Linked DNA regions of Homo sapiens: region 2 is linked to region 1. Evidence: promoter capture Hi-C in human tissues and cell types (Jung and others, 2019). All regions are on one chromosome and are shown on one strand. The core of a region is centred on a gene start or on the middle of the fragment in contact, and the rest is flanking DNA. Distances in the headings are between cores, read along the strand shown.

Region 1 (5,544 bases), core at 442-2,941:
TCTTGGGGACATGCTCAGGGCAGAAGTCAGAGCGGAGGAGGCGGGAAAAGTAGATTATGATCATCACGTCCAGCATGAGCAGGATACCCAGCAGGAAGGTGCCCAGGGTCCTCTGGTTCACATAACGCAAGAAGAAATGGGTGAGGTAGGCCTGAGGGGCCAGGCGGAAGAGAAAGTACATGACCAGGTTCACATACTTGTTAACCCGGTAGAGGAGATGATCCTGGGCATTACTGATTTTCATCATCATGCGAATGGTGAGGAAGATGTTGCTGACTTCCACCAGTAGTGTTAAGACACCCCCACCGACAAAGCTGCTCCAAAAGATGCCGGAGAAGAAGGCACCCATGGCCTAGAGGGAAGAAAGAATAGGAGTTAGGGAACCCAGATGCAGACGCTTTCCTGGAAGTTTGGGGGGTGTGGCTATCAGATTGAGGGCTGGAAAATCCCAAATTTCCCCCTGGAATAATAGTTTATAGTGGGTAAGATGCTTTGTTTTGTTAGTTCAACATTACTAGATTTTGATTGCTGCTCACAGCTGGCTGTGGGTGATGTTCAGTCTAAAGAGGCAGTGAAACCATGGGTTGCTGGCCTCAGTGAACAAGTACAGACTGCCAACCTCCAGCATCCTAGCATAAGAAGTAGCACACAGGTCGGGGGTGGGTGGTAAGAAAACACGGCCTTCTCCCAGATTCAGAAAGACGGAGCTGAGACTAGATTACTGACACCAGGCCTATACCACATAGTCTGCTTCTCTCTTACCATGACGTGATGGACAAGGTATTCCCAAGAGGCTCGCGTCTGTCCGCTAGCCACGATGTCCACCGTATCGTGGATGAAATACCCTAGTGGAGGGATGGGGCAAGAGATCATGAACTGAACAAGCAGCTTCCTTCTCCCTGTCCCCAATTTGCCTCCCGCTTCCTGGGCAAGACCTACCCGCAGAGAAGCAAACGAGCAAATAGCCAGAAAGTGACCACGCCGTCTCAATCTCCACTAACATGTCAGGAGTCTGCCATACACTGGAAAGGAGGGAAGAGGAGGCTCTGCATTTCGGCACCCTCAAGGACCATCAACTTCTCGGTTACCCTTCGCAGCCCCGGGGGATCCTGGGCTCGCGCTAGTGGCTGACTGGGAAGCTAAGAGTGGCTGGGCAAAACCCAAGAGCCTCCAGTTTCCCAGGGGCGATCCCCCTCCCCTGGGGCCACTGCGGCTTTTGGTTGGATAGGATACCAAACGGGATCAGGTGAGACTGCGTGGCCTCAGCCCGCCAGTGAGCGATGGGGGTAGTAACACAAGAGCCGGCCCCGGCTCCCCGCTCAGGATCCCCTGGCCACCTCATTTCCACAGTCGCTCACTCACCACAGCAGTGCCCAGATCCCCGACACAATGGAGTGAGCGAAGGAGACGAGCAGGTTGTGCCAGCGCCAGGTGCGCAGGGGGTCGGCGCGCACGTGCACGGGTAGGGGCAGGCGACAGAGCGCGCGCCGGAGCGCCCGGAAGGTCAGCGTGGCGCCCAGGAGCAGCGGCAGGGCGGGGTGCAGCAGTCGGGGCATGCTGGCCCTCCCTGCCGTCCGCCCTCGAGGCCGCCTCCTAGGTCTGTTCTGGGAACCGGGATCCCTCTCGGGCCAGTCCAGGCCGGCCGCCTCTCCCGCCGGCCGCCAGCCCCACACAGTTGGCGAAGCCCTCTAGGCCCCTTGGCTCCTCCTCGCCCTCCCTGCGAGGCCTCTGCCCCCGCCCCCAGCCGCCCGCGCCCCCGCCCCGCCCGCCTGCCCCCGCCCCGTCCGCCTGCCCCCGCCCCTCAGGCGCTGCTGCCGCGCGAGCCGGGTGTCCCCGTGGCCTCTCGGCCACCGGCCGGCTCCCGCGGACTTCGGGTAACTAGGAGCTGTGCTGGGGGCGTCGTCGCCGAGACACCCCTCGCTGGCGCCTCCCGACTGCCGACGGAGTCCCCGCTGCCCTCGCTCGCCTGGCCTCATTAACCCGCGTCCCCACTTTTCCCCGGGCCACCGGCTACCCCGCCCTGGGCGGGTACCGCGAGAGCTCTCTCCGCCCTCTACTTTCTGCGCAGAGCTGGACGGGACCCGACACGCCCACGCCCCCTAAGTCCTGGTCCTGGGGTGGGCTCCGGAGCCCCGCGTCCGACAGTGGTCTCCGTGCAGACCCAGTGCCCCTACCGCACCACTCGCAGTCTTCTGGCCGGAGTCCCGTGTTTACCTGTCCCTCCCGCGCCCGCGAGGTGGGCACTTGGGAACTGCTGAGTAACCCATCGCCACCTCTTCCCGCCGGCTCTTAAACTCCTGGGGCCGGGCGGCTGTCACAGTCCTCCCTCAGACAGTCCCGGCCCTCGGCCCGGCTCCCCGGAGGCTGGGCAAGCAAGACCTCCGATTTGCCGGGACAGCTGGAGTGACCCGCGCTCTCCAAGCCGGTAGCTTGCAGCAGTTGCGGCTCCTAGCCACTAGGTGTCAGCCTGCCCTCACTGTGGCGCGGGCTCCCCCTCCCGCCTCCGAGCGAGGCAGCTGCTTTCGGGGAGAGTTTAGGTATAAACTCTGGGCGAAAGGAGGAGCAGCTGAGAGCCAGCGAGGGAAGTTAAGCGGAGATGAGAGCGGGGAGGGAGAAGAGGGTAGTAATAGAGGAGGGGCGGGAAGAAGCGGGGGAGGGGAAAGGTGCTGCGGGCGGGAGGAAGAAGCCGAGAAAACCTGAGGCGCAAGGACCCAGGGACCAAGCCGTTTGAGTGTTTTCCTCCCCTATGGCTCCAAGGTTACACATTAACCCCTGTGGGACTCTTAAGTCAACCAAAGCCCAGTCGGTTTCTAGGTGAGAACACGGGTGTCCTGGGTGAGCGGCTTTCCCGCCCCTCCCCTTGGCTCACAGAGCTGCTCTGTCCGCCGGCCGACACCGGCCTGAGCCAGCGCCCTTCCAGCAGTCATTCCACGTGGGTGGGTTTGGATACCCTTGCGAGAGCCAGGACAGGGGCAGAAGATAAAACGCCCCTTTCCTCACACCCCTTGCCCACTCTGATACAGGGACGCTAACCTTCAGCTAGTGACCATCCTCCTCCTGAATACTGATGTTTTCTTTCTTTCTTTTTTTTTTTTTGAGATGGAGGCTCACTCTATCGCCCAGGCTGGAGTGCAATGGCACGATCTCGGCTCACTGCAACCTCCGCCTCCCAGATTCAAGCGATTCTCCTGCCTCAGCCTCCCGAGTAGCTGGGATTACAAGCGCGCGCCACCGTGCCCAACTAATTTTTGTATTTTTAGTAGAGACGAGGTTTTACCATGTTGGCCAGGTTGGTCTCAAACTCCTGACCTCAGGTGATCCGCCCGCCTCGGCCTCCCCAAAGTGCTGGAATTACAGGCGTGAGCCACCGCGCCTGGCCGAATACTGAGTTTTTCTAGAGCTCCCGCAGAGCAGGAGCCCGGGAGAACCTGGAATTAACCTCACTTCCGGTAAAGAGCCTAGCTGGTCACACTAACCAGCCCCCTGCCTCTAGGCTTTTGCCTTGAGCTCATTTCGGCGAAACCGCGGTCTTTCCTTCTCCCCTTGATGCTTTCAGGTACTGACCCACTACCGCCCCCATCTTCCCCCATGGGAAGATGAGCACTGAGGGCAGATTACCCTCCTGCAGCGCGTGTGTGAAAGGGGAGTTGAGAGTGCTGACGAGCGCGGCGCTCACTAGTCGGGACGGCCCGAGACCGTGTCATGTCCTCTTCAGGTGAATCAACTTGCACGACTTGGGATTTCCCCCGTCCCTCCCCAGGCAAACACGAAACCAACCCTGCTGCCTTCTCCCAGGAGCGCTGGTCTCGGTCGTTTTGGGTGTGTTTATCGTTTGCGTGCCAAGGAGAACCCGCTTTCTCCTGAAATAGCGTCACTCGTGGGCAAGAAGGGGGTCAATCTTCTCTTCCCACCCCTTCCCGGCCTGTGGGGTTTAACTCTCGGGAACGCGACATCCTTTTAGTCTAGCAAGCTTTACAAGGGCTGGGTATATGTGTGGGAGGGGCGGGTACCGTGCCCGCCATTGCGGGCGCGCCCTATTTTCTTGCCCTATTCTTGGACACTGCGTGGGGCAGGGTCGTGAGGGGAAAAGTGACGGCGTGTCGCAGCGGGAGGTGTGTGGTGCAGGCCCACAAATACGGACGCGTGGCGGAACCCACACCTAGGGCGCTGGCTCCGCCCCGCAAGCCGCTCGCCGTGAAGGGGCGGGGCCCAGAGTGGGTGGGTCCGCGCACGCGCCGCGTGGGGGACGGAAGTGAAACTCTAAGAAATGAGATGGAGAAGTACGAGCGGATCCGAGTGGTGGGGAGAGGTGCCTTCGGGTGAGCCAGGGCTCTGGGGGAGGAAACTGCTAGGGGATAGGGAAAATAAGCCCCAATTCCGCCCGCGAAGTCGCCGCCCGCCTAATCCCGCCCCAAGGCGTGAGCGCCACTCTGGGAAGCCCCGCCCAAGCTTCCGGTCCCAGTCCCCCGGGGAGACTCCGCCTCTACGGAGGCCACGCCCCTGACAGGCCCATTGCTCCGCCCACTGAGTTATGTTAGCTTCTTTATTCATTCGTTCAACAAATACTGAGTGCCAGCTATGTATGTCAGGCTTTGGCCGCTGGGTATATAGTTAGAACCGGAACGGGCGTGGTCTTTTCCCTCTTGGAACTTACTGACTGTGGGAAAGTTATACAATAAACAAAACATTATGAAGTAAGAAGTTATAGCAGTTATGAAGTGTTATTAGCAGGTTGTGAGGATAGAGTACATTACCAGTGAGAATACTTATATGAGATGGTCAAGGAAGAATTCTCTGAGAAGGGAGATTGCTTGCTTGCTTGATTGATTTTTAAGACAGAGTCTCCCTCTGTCACCCCGGCTGGAGTTCAGTGGCACGATCTTGGCACACTGCAACCACCACCTCCTGGGTTCAAGCAATCGTTGTGCCTCAGCCTCCCGAGTAGCTAGGATTACAGGCGTGCGCCACCATGCCCGGCTAAATTTTTTGGATTTTTTTTTTTTTTTTTTTTTTTTGAGGCAGTCTCACTCTGTCGCAGTGGCGCGATCTCGAGTGCAGTGGCACTATCTCAGCTCACTGCAACCTCTGCCTCCCTGGTTCAAGCGCTTCTCCTGCCTCAGCCTCCCGAGTAGCTGGGACTACAGGCACGCGCCACCATGCCCAGCTAATATTTTTTGTGTTTTTAGTACAGATGGGGTTTCGCCATGTTGGCCAGGCTGGTCTCAAATTCCTGACCTCAGGTGATCCGCCCGCGCCGGCCTCCCTAAGTGCTGGAATTACAGGCGTGAGCCACCGCGACAGGCCAGAAGTGAGATTTAAGGCCAAGACTTGAGGAATGAGGACCAGTAGTCTGCAGGTGAAGGGAGAACTTTTCAGGCAAAGGAAATAGCGTATGTGAAATGTCTCACATGGGAAAACAGAGCATTCAAGAAACCGAGAAAGACTAGTAATAGTTGGAATGTAGTGGGCAAGGTAGAGAATGGTATAAAATGTAATTGTCGAGGGCGGGGACTAGATTATGGCCTGATAACCTGAGATAAAAGG
Region 2 (5,544 bases), core at 1,306-3,805, 340 kb after region 1:
AGGATGCCTCAACCCCTGGGCTTCCCTTTTACTAGGGATCCCACATTTTCCAATTTCTCAGAGAAACTCACTGGTCACTCAAGTCAGCAACAATACTTCCCTAAGGGGCTACACCTTCTTAGATGGAACCATGTATTAGAAGCACAAATCTACCAGCCAGGCACAAAGTCTGGCCACTGAGCCATGTCCCCACCTTGCAGATCTTAAAAAAAAAAAAAAAAAAAAAGTATATCACTATGACACAAATGTCCTAAATGACCTTCTCAACTCTTGGCTCCTCCTCATCCCAACCCCACTGCCAGTCCCTTTAACAAAAACAGCCTCACCTAAACCGATCACCTGCAGGGCTCTCAGCTGCATGGGAGGGCTTGATCTAGATGCTCTTGTCTCATCTGCGCTGCTCGCCTCCCCTAAATACCCTGTTCATGTTCCACCCTCCAATCTGTTCCTCTTCCAGCTTCCCTCTCAGCCATGCCGAGAGAAGCCTGCTGCTTTAAGAATGGCTTTCCCTGAGCAAGGGATCTAAGCAGTTTCTAAGCAGCTTTGCCACACGGTTTACCCCCTCCCGCCCACCCGCCTGCTATGATTTCTGTATATGAAATGTTGGGAAAGAAGTGATTCTTATAATCATGCTAATATGACAATTTGGGGCCTTCTTTGGTGTTGCTACACACATCTGTACTGACTTTTAAAAATTGTATGAAAACTTGGTATTGAAAGCACAGCCACTTCATCTATAACCCCACATCCCCAGGTAAAACTACTTATAGTTTTCAGAGGTCCCTTCTAATATTTATTTATTGATCTGTGTTTTCCCTTCTACTTTTGTCATGTCTATATGTAACCTTAGGAACCCATTAACAGAGCTGTAAGACTGCCTCACTTTCTAGTTGGTTCTCTAGGCTTATTTTGTCGGTTCCTGGGAGCAGAAGCTCCTTTCTACTATTAAAACCTGCCCAGTGGCTGAGTATGTTTCCACCAGAAACAGTAGCTCCCACAGATGTTCTCCGGAACCCACAAAGGCAGGCCATGAGACCTGTGCTTCCAGGGCAGAACCTTCCAGGGAGTGCACTCACTAGGGTCACTCTTCCTTGGACAGTAGTCCCCCAGCAGTCCTCAAGCAAGGGTGCCAACCTGCAGTTGATGCCAGGCCCCAGGGTTAAGATGAGCCATGAGACCTCTTTCATCACATACAATTTTATATTTGCCTGGCTGCCTGTCACTCACCGGTCTTTCAAAGTGCTAATGTTTCCGAAGCTATTGGCTATATCTTCCCCATGCAGAGATTTTTTTAAACTCCTTTTTTTCTTTTTGAGACAGAGTCTCACCCGTCGCCCAGGCTGGAGTGCAATGGCATGATCTCGTCTCACTGCAAACTCCACCTTCAAGGGATTCTCCTGCCTCAGCCTCCCGAGTAGCTGGGATTACATGTTCCCGCCAACACGCCCAGCTAATTTTTTTTTTTTTTTTTGAGACGGAGTCTTGCTCTGTCGCCCAGGCTGGAGTGCAGTGGCTCGGATCTCTGCTCACTGCAAGCTCCGCCTCCTGGGTTCATGCCATTCTCCTGCCTCAGCCTCCCGAGTAGCTGGGACTACAGGCACCCGCCACCATGCCCGGCTAATTTTTTGTATTTTTTTAGTAGAGATGGGGTTTCATCGTGTTAGCCAGGATGGTCTTGATCTCCTGACCTCGTGATCCACCCGCCTCAGCCTCCCAAAGTGCTGGGATTACAGGCGTGAGCCACCGTGCCCGGCCTAATTTTTGTATTTTTAGTAGAGAGGGGGTTTCACCATCTTGGCCAGGCTGGTCTCGAACTCCTGACTCCAGGTGATCCACCCACCTCAGCCTTAACTCCTTTTTTTTTTAAATTTCCATTTTCAAATTCCCTAGTGTCCTCTCTTTCCCAAATCCATTTGCTGCTTTTCCTAATCTAGTCAGATCATAGATGTGGCACAAAACATATAAAAATTTCTTAAAATGTGGAAACTCTTTGACTCTTAAGCCACTTCAAATATAATTTGGCTGGATAGTGTCAAAACGTAATATCCTTTTTGAATTTTCTTTTCTTCTAAAACTGTCATAGCTGACTTTTGATATCTACAGCAAATTCTATCTGCACATATAAGTATTCCACTGGGGGATTTATGTGACTGACTTCAGTCGCAAAGCACACACTCTTTTTGGAATCTCCCTTATGTTTATGACCCATCTCTGGGGCTCACGCTACAGAAGACTCAATTTCTCTGTACAATTCCTTCTAAACACATCCAGTATCCTTGTTAACTCCAAAATGGCTACTGCTCTGGAAATCTTTCCTCCCAGATCAAATAGCAGGGAATGGTCTGGATTGTTGTTGTACTGTAATGAAATTAGACTGAAGTGAATATAGCTTAAAATATGCATTCTGAGCGATGTGGAACTGTTATTCATATTGCTGGCACAGTGGGAGTGAAGTGAAAATGTGATAATATATGGGGGATGCTCTGAAAATTGTGAAGCGCGACGCAAATGTGAAGTAGATATTTTCCCCCCAAATTGCCAAGAAGCGTTTCCTTTCTGAGGCCAGGACTTGGCGAATGCCAGGCACACGCGATTTGAGATGAGGACCATGGTAGTGATTCTTTGCTTTCTTGCCTCTCACTGCATCCTCTGCCAAGGCCAGAATAGTTAGGAGACGCCTGGCCAGCTGCTGGAAGCAAGTTGAGGACTCTGCTTAGAAAGATGACATCACCCCTCAGCCTCAGTTTTCTTTCCAGGATGACGTCTTCACAGAGTTGTGATGGAGGTGAAATGAGATTTTGTAGGGCAAAGTGCTTAAGCGCTGGGGTCATCATAGTAAGTGCTCAACAAATGGGAACTGTTGTTGGTCCTTTTTTTTTTTTTTTGAGATGAAGTCTCTCTCTTGTCCCCTAGGCCAGAGTGCAATGACACGATCTTGGCTCACTGCAACCTCTGCCTCCCGGGTTCAAGCGATTCTCCTGCCTCAGCCCCCCAAGTAGCTGGGATTACAGGTGCCTGCCACCACGCACGGCTAATTTTTGTATTGTTTTTAGTTGAGATGGGGTTTCACCATGTTGGCCAGGCTGGTCTTGAACTCCTGACCTCAGGTGATCCACCCTCCTCGGCCTCCCAAAAGTACTGGGATTACAGGCGTAAGCCACCGCACCCGGCCAATTATTGCTCTTATTACCCTCCTCTCACTACTGACAGGGTAGGAAGGGGCCTGTCAGTCCCAGTCACTGACTCTGGGCCTCAGCTCAGGCCAGAGTTCCAAGGGCCCTTAAAAGGGCGGGAAACATTATTTCCGGGTTGCTCGGAGAGTAGACCTGTCCTAATGCCGCTGTAATCATTAAAAGGGCAACACAGATGGGCTGCCCATCGGCGGCTTGAAAACCCATTTCTTTTAAGGGGAGTGGCTTCTGGGAAGTGCGTAAAGAACCTCCAGGCAGGGGCGGGACCAGAGGGCCACGTGCGCCAATGAAAAGTGGATATGCAAATATATATATGAATATGCTAACGAGCTCTCGGTTTCCCAGTGAATGGTAGGGCACAAGCCTGGACTGGCAGAGCGGGCTAGGGAAGAAGAGGAAATGAGAGGACCTCGAGGTTCAACCGAGTGTCTGAATGGAAACTAACTCCCGACAGACCATGCACAACGTTTCTTCCACAGCACCCGGATCTCGAAGCCCCACTGGGCATCAACTGTCAGTCCCTCACTAGGGGGGATGAAGGGGGAGGGCGTGGGAGATTCTTTTGGCTGTGGTAAGGAGCTCTGAATTTAGAAGCCAGAAGGTTCTTGCCAGCAATACTACCTTGTTTCACAGATGGGGAAACTGAGGCCTGACAGGTTAAGCCCCTTCTCCAAGGTCGCAGTGCTAGACGCAGAAGAACTCAGTTTGGCAGGTTTTGTCTATTTTTGCTTTGTTTTCATTACTGCACGGGGGCACCACTCTGGAGGTGAAAAGGCAGCAGCCTGAAAGGCGGCAGAGCTTGGTACATTACCGAACGTGTCGGACTGCCCACCAGGCTGGAGGTTTTAGAAAATATGTCCTAGGAGAAGATGGAAGGAGTCAGGGTGGCCGCCAGTAGAAGCAGGCAAGGACAAATTATCATAGACTTGTCTGGAATGTGTTGCTATATAAAAGGTGACGAAGTGTTCCAGCTTCCCAGAGAACCGGTGCAGTGGAAATGAACGGGGAACAGAAGGGATTAGGGTTAGATTTAAGGCAGTACTTTCTCCCAGGGATGATAATGGGGCCCTTCATTCAGTGACCAAGGCAGGCTAGGGACTCATCCCCCTCCCACTTCCGAGGCCTTTGGGAATCCATTTCCCTCCAGTCCCACACGGCCAGCTTGGAGGTCAGGAATGAATTAGAAGACTTTGAAAAGTCCCCACTATTCAGGTAGGCGATCCTTTCCCTGGATGGGCCTCCTGGGCTCTTTGCTGAGGGTAAGGACAGCAGCCGCTCTGGCTCCAGGGCCCTGGGGAAGAAACAGCAGTCATGGCATCTCTTGCAACACGCTCCCTGCCAAATTGATTCAAATTGGCTTGGATATGAACATATGATTAAAGGAGCGGCGCGATTCATTTATCAGGAGAGATTAAAGAGCGGCATCTGCGCAGCCTAGCTGGGGGACAATTAAGGAGCAAATCGCTAAGTGTCTTTGCCACCAGGCAAGTGGGTGGAGGATGGGGCAAGGACAACTGGGATAATCTGCCAAGGAGACACAAAGACAAAAGAAGACCATTTAGGGGTCACTGCCTGCCACTTTATTTTCTGGGCACAGACTGGGCACCATGGGGAGTCCCACAGGGGCACTGGTTCCCGCCCATGCTTATTCAGGAGTCAGAGCAATCCCGGGGATCTGCAGTTATAGAGGAGGATCTAGCAGGCTGGCTTTGAGCCTGGCAAAGGGCCAGATTTGCCTTCTGCAACATCTTAGGGACCAGAGGTACCATGAGTGTACAGGTAAGGTCAACAGCAGAGCCTTCAAGGTACACCCAAAATAAAGATGGGCTTTGGTGGCCCTAAAGGCTCCTGGACTCCTCTGGGGCCAAGGGAATTGTCTCCTTCTCAACTGAAACTTGGAGAAGCACTGGTCATGTGACAATGCACAGCCAGCCTGTGGCATGTTCTACCAGCACCTCTCTTTCCCTGCCCCAGGACCTTTACTTAAACTCTTCTTCTTCTCAATATGCCTTTCCCAGCAACTGTACCTGTGGAAGTGCTATTTTCAAGCCCTGGTCAAAATAGCAGCTCCTTTTAGAGGCTTTCCCAATCCTCCCCGCCAAAGAGAGCATCTCCCTCCATAGTATGTCCAAAGCAACCTCTTCATCCTTGTTAGGTCTTATGTAATTATTTCCACATGGGTCTGCTCCAGCCCTCGTCCGCAAAACCCTGGAGGATGGATACTATGATGTGTTCCTCTCTACCCACTCTAAGCTTATGCATACTAGCAGGTGCAGCATGTATTTTGTGTCTACCTTCCTCCACTTTATGAAGGAAGGGACCTTATCCATCACCAGCACCCAGAATGGGGCCT

Evidence for each region. The method cuts DNA at HindIII sites, captures the fragments that hold promoters and counts their contacts. A contact is called where the count stands out against the background at its distance.
Region 2: a fragment that was not itself captured here is called in contact with the fragment with the promoter of TLCD1 in region 1 in 1 of the 25 tissues and cell types used here (mesenchymal stem cells).

What each region holds. Positions count from the first base shown.
Region 1 is chr17:28,724,542-28,730,085 of GRCh38, forward strand. It overlaps TLCD1 (TLC domain containing 1), which reads right to left and starts at 1,692. Exons shown (of 4, transcript NM_138463.4): 1 at 1,363-1,692; 2 at 940-1,022; 3 at 763-845; 4 at 1-352. The coding sequence starts at 1,556. It overlaps NEK8 (NIMA related kinase 8), which reads left to right and starts at 4,247. Exons shown (of 15, transcript NM_178170.3): 1 at 4,247-4,319. The coding sequence starts at 4,273. RefSeq lists enhancers at 504-1,227, 591-890, 1,011-1,060, 1,228-1,951, 1,952-2,675 and 3 more and a silencer at 1,471-2,000. The HindIII fragment of the contact is 6,466 bases long and covers 1-4,209 here.
Region 2 is chr17:29,066,374-29,071,917 of GRCh38, forward strand. It overlaps MYO18A (myosin XVIIIA), which reads right to left. Exons shown (of 42, transcript NM_078471.4): 42 at 4,749-5,544. Among named protein-coding and RNA genes, the nearest start is that of PIPOX, 26 kb to the left of the region's middle. The HindIII fragment of the contact is 5,950 bases long and covers 1-5,530 here.